Regions from separate parts of the Homo sapiens genome. Here region 2 is linked to region 1. Evidence: promoter capture Hi-C in 16 types of primary human blood cells and fetal thymus (Javierre and others, 2016). All regions are on one chromosome and are shown on one strand. The core of a region is centred on a gene start or on the middle of the fragment in contact, and the rest is flanking DNA. Distances in the headings are between cores, read along the strand shown.

Region 1 (2,624 bases), core at 89-2,588:
AATGTCATCATAAAAAGGCGAGTTCCGCCCCCTTGGCCTCCATGACGTCTGAGGAAGCGGCACTCGATGCGCCATCTTGGAGCGCAGAGCATGCTAAGGCCTTCAACTTCAGACTGCAGAGCCGGGGCACCTACAATTTTCTGACATCACCCAGCCTCAGGTATGCAATGACGGCCGCACAAACATAAAGCCCACTCAGACAGGGACCCGTGCCCGCTGACCTCCAGCGCGGCGTGGGCGGTCCTTTCAGAGGCAGGCTGTGGTTGGGGAGCTTGGCGCGGACTTTAGGAGGCCGGGTGTGCAGGTAGAGGCCGGACACGAGTAGAGGCTAGATGTGCAAATAGAGGCCGGGCACGAGTAGAGGCCGGGCACCAGTAGAGGCCAGGTGCGCGAGTAGAGGCCAGTTGTGCGAGTAGAGGCCGGGCACGAGTAGGGGCCGGGCACGCAAGTAGGGGCCGGGCACAAGGAGGAGGCTGAGCGCGAGTAGGGACGGGGTGCAAAGAGGAGGCCGGGCGTGAGAAGGCCGCGCGCGAGGAGGCCGGGCACGAGGTGGAGGACACGCGCAAGGAGGCCGAGATTCTCACCGGGTCTGTGGAGACGCGCACCCCAGGGGTCATGCCCTGGCTTCTGGCAGGAACGGCTGGCCCTGCTCTGTGGGAAAGGGGAGGTGAGCAGCTGGGGCAGGCAGAGGCGGTGCTCAGGTCCCCAAGCCGGGGAACTGCGCCAGAGCCTGGGGAGCTCCGCGGAGAGCCGTCCAGGGCCCCGCGTACCCGTTTAAGCGCCTGCTGTGTGTGGGGCGGCCCTCCGCTCGGAGAAGGGCAGCCTAGGGTTTTCCCGCCTGTCTGAGGGAAGCTGAAGGCCTGGCGGGTGCGGACACATATCTGCTGCGCAGACTCTGAGCCTTAACGCTACAGTGACAAGGGCCGGGTGGTTGCGGTCCCCTGGCCCTGGGCACTATGCCTCAGTTTCTCTCTTCCATCAACAAAGGTGGCGGCCCAGTGCCCGGTGTGGGGCAGAGGTGGGGCCAGGGGCGGGGCGCGCGTTCCCTCAGGGGCCGTCGGAGCAGCTCCTGTCCAGCTGGGCGTTGGGCCCCGCCCTCCTCTCAGACTAGGGATGCCCCGCAAAGCCTGCCCCCGCCAGCCCCGAAACGGCCTTCCCCAGGCCCCGGGCAGCAAAACGGACTCCACACAGACGCGCGCTGCTGGAAACTCGCCCCGCCAGGGCCTCAGGAAGATCCCCGGACCCCCCGCACCCGGCCCGGCCCGGCCCGGCCTGGCCTCCCCTCCCCCTCCTCGCCGGCCTAGCTCACCCTCCTGACTGCGAGACAAAGGCCGCGGCACCGGCAGCCGACACTGCGCCGGCGCGAGCCTAACTCCATTTCCCAGAGAGCCGCGCGCGCATTTCCGGCCGCCCTCCCCCACCTCGCTCTCGCCCTTGGCGTTCGTGAGCTCTCAGTGCTGCTGGAGCTGGAGTGACTGGGCCTGGTGAAACAGGGCGCGCGGGGTGCCTGGGCATCAACGCGGGATAAGTGCCGCTTGGAACGCCGTGAGCTCCCGGCGCGACCACACGGGCTTTCGTGTTGGAAACTCTACCGTCAGTTTTACTGCTGCAAACAAAGCAATGATTTTTTCAAAACACATACTTTCAACCAAAACATTCACCAAGATCGCACACACGGGAGTCTTTGCATTTTCCACACTGAGGCAGCCATGGAGACTTCACACTGTATTTATTACATGGTTATAAGGAACATCACGTGCAAGACACTAACAATTATGACGACTTTGGACATTGCTAGGTAATTGTCAAAATTGTGCATTTGAACAGCAGCAAAATATTCAAAGCTGGTGTGCCCTCGCTGACACGAAATGAATTGTCATTTTCTGAACATTCACCAAAGCCTGCCAGGCGCTAGGCCTAGGTTCAGCAGCACACAATAGTGAAGCCCCCATTCAAGCGGGCTTCGTTTCACCAGCGTACGTCACACGTCCGTGGAGCAGCGAGACCAGAGGAGCTGGGAAAGCCAGGGCTGAGCCTTGTGCTTTTGCCCTTTTAAGGGAGGACAGATTAATTCCAATCAGCCTGGGCTTGGGAGCTGTATTTGAAGCAGAGGAAAAGTTTTAAGACGGGCATTTTTTTTTCTTTGACTGAAACAACTCTGAAAACAGCAGAGAACACAATACGAATTCTCGTACCACACACAGACACTTGCAAAGATTTGGCTGGTTAACACACAAGTTAAGACTTTAAATTTCATAAGCCCTAAAACAGTGGCAATTATGAAGAGATATAATGGCTCAAAATCATAATGCACTGATGTAAACAAAGCAAAGGCAAGCTTCTTGGCTTTTAAGGGCGTCCTGTACATTCCAAGTACTGTAAAGCCCCACATTTGTGACCGTCGCACTGAAAGCCAGCCTGCTTTTCACTCTACAGCAGTAAAGAGGCTTTCCATTATACATAAAATGCCGTTTTTCAGTTCTCGAACTCACAAACCCAAATGCCACAAAACATCTTTTTGTGTATTTTTTCTTTCACAAAATGTATACTCTTGCCCCCCACCCCCACCCCCAACCGTTTCCTTTTACTGGATCAAAAGGTATGAACACACAACTCATGGTGAA
Region 2 (2,624 bases), core at 45-2,544, about 21 Mb after region 1:
TCACGCACTGCTGAATTGTCAGTGTTTTTGTGGGGGTGGGGATTCACGTGTTCCTGTGCTTTCTTTTAATTGCTGCGTGTAGAATTCTCACATGTTCAACATATCATGCTTGTTAATTTGATGTAAAGATCCTCTGTATCCTTTTATATTTTCTGGGTGCTTGACCTCTCAGTTATTAAAAGAGGTGTATTGAAATCTCCCACAATCAGCCGTGCGTGGTCGCTCACGCCTGTAATCCCAGCACTTTGGGAGGCCGAGGTGGGTGAAACACAAGGTCAGTAGCTCAAGACCAGGCTGGTCAAGATGGTGAAACCCCATCTCTACTAAAAATACAAAAAATTAGCCGGGCGTGGTGGCAGGCGCCTGTAATCCCAGCTACTTGGGAGGCTGAGGCAGGAGAATCGCTTGAACTCGGAGGGCAGAGGTTGCAGTGAGCTGAGATCGTGCCACTGTACTCCAGCCTGGGTGACAGAGTGAGACTCCATCTCAAAAAAAATAACTAAAAAAAAGAAATCTCCCACAATCAAGATGAAGCCTAAACTTTTTGTATTTTCTCAATTTTTACTTTGCATATTTAGAGTTTATTTTACTGGATGCTTACAAATTTAGAATTGTTATATCTTTTTGGTGAATGAACGTTTTATTATGTAGTAATCCTCTTTATTCCCAAGAATGTTTTCACCTTAAAGTCTATTTTTTTCCAGTGCTAAGACCCTAGCTTTCTATTCATGAATACTTGCCTGATTTTCATTTTCTTAGTTTTTACTTCAACTTTTTTGTGTCCTCATGTTTTTAGTCACTTTTTATTTTAAAAGGGTTGAAATTTACTTTTTCTTTGTTTACATTCCTTATAATTAGTGATGTATTTGGATTTTTTTTTTTTTTTTTTTGAGACAGGGTCTCTCTCTCTCTGTTGCCCGGGCTGAGTGCAGTGGAGCAATCACAGCTCACCACAGCCTCAACCCCCTAGGCTCAAGCAATCTGCATACCTCAGCCTCCCGAGTAGCTGAAAATACAGGCACAATCCACCTCTCTTGGCCTGTTTGAATTTTTTTAACCAGCTTATTCTATTTGTCTCACTTTTCCTGTCTTCTGTTGCCTGTTTTATTTTACACTGTTTTAGATTTGAGGTTTTAAAAAAATCTGATGCCCATACTTAGTTCGATTCCACTGATTTGGAAGTTGAAAGCATGGACTCTTGAGCCAGATTGCCTCCATTCAAATCCTAGCTCTGCTATTTAATACCTCTATGACTTTTGGCAATTTACTTAACCTCTCTGGTCCTCATTTGCAAATATATATGCTATTCACAGGATTCTTCTGAAGATTAAATGAGCTTATATAGTAAATGTGTAAAGCAGTGAAAATAGTGCCTGGCATATAGCAAGCATGGTGTGTAAGCTATTTTTTTTTTTCCTGTCCATTTTGTTCTTATTATTGGGATTTCATCATGCATAATTTTTTTTTAAGAGACAGGTTCTCCCGTGGTCACCCAGGCTGGAGTGCAGTGGCTTGACCACAGCTCATTGCAGCATTGACTTTCCGGGCTCAGGTGATCCTCCCGCCTTAGCCTCCCGAGTACCTGAGGCTACAGGCATGTGCCACCACACCCGGCTTTTTTTTTTTTTTTTTTTTTTTTGAGACAGTGTCCCAGGCTGTTGCCCAGGCTGGTCTTGAACTCCTGGGCTCTGGTAATCTTGCAGTCTTGGCATCCCAAAGTGTTGGGATTAGAGCCATGAACCACCATGCCTGGCTTATAGAACTTTTACTTTTTTTTTTTTTTTTTTTTTCCTGAGATGAAGTCTCGCTCTGTCGCCCAGGCTGGAATGCAGTGGCACAATTTCGGCTCACTGCAAACTCTGTCTCCTGGATTTAAGCAATTCTTCTGCCTCAGCCCCCTGAGTAGCTGAGAATTCAGGCGTGCACCACCATGCCTGGCTTATTTTGTATTTTTAGTAAAGTCGGGGTTTTGTCATGTTGACCAGGCTGGTCTTGAATTCCTGACCTCAGGTGATCCACCTGCCTCAGACTCCCAAAGTGCTGAGATTACAGGCGTGTGCCACCGCACCTGGCCCCGTAGAACTTTTAAAATTTACCATCCATGGCACTCATGGCACCTCAGATTTTTTTTAGAAAACCTCATCACTTCTGAATAAATTTTAGCTGTTCCATCTTGAATATAGTTTGCTCCCTGTTCTTTCAGTATTACTTTCAGGAAGACAAATGAATTCTTTGACTTTTCTTTATGACTTTTAACCTTGCTTTTGCATTTCCAGTTATTTAACCATTCCAGTGAGGTTTTGTTGTTGATTTCTTTCTCTTTTTCTCCTTGAAATTTATATGTTGAAGAAACTGGATCATCTGTCATTTAACATTTAGCTCTCCTCCCTTTACTCCTTTCTTTCCTATAAACAGACTATGTGATATTAGTATTGTGTATTTCATCAAGAAGCACATATCTGGTTGTTTCTGTTTTTGTGAAGTTAGCAGCCATTCCTCATCTCATCCCCTAAAAATTACTAGGTAATTTTAAAATTGTCCTTATGAACACACAGATTTAAAAAAATTTGATGTGATTTATTGTAATTACATTACAATGATTACAGTTTTTATTCTTGAATTCA

The links. Contacts are between HindIII fragments. The CHiCAGO score rates a contact against its expected background, and 5 or more counts as called.
Region 2: a fragment that was not itself captured here is called in contact with the fragment with the promoter of ZNF135 in region 1 in 1 of 17 cell types (non-activated CD4 T cells); the score reaches 5.2 in non-activated CD4 T cells.

What each region holds. Positions count from the first base shown.
Region 1 is chr19:58,057,996-58,060,619 of GRCh38, reverse strand. ZNF135 (zinc finger protein 135) reads right to left here and starts at 1,338. Exons shown (of 5, transcript NM_001289401.2): 1 at 1,310-1,338; 2 at 585-651. The coding sequence starts at 617. The HindIII fragment of the contact is 3,956 bases long and covers 1-2,340 here.
Region 2 is chr19:36,752,438-36,755,061 of GRCh38, reverse strand. All of the region lies in intron 4 of ZNF850 (zinc finger protein 850), which reads left to right. Among named protein-coding and RNA genes, the nearest start is that of ZNF850, 19 kb to the left of the region's middle. The HindIII fragment of the contact is 2,842 bases long and covers 1-2,624 here.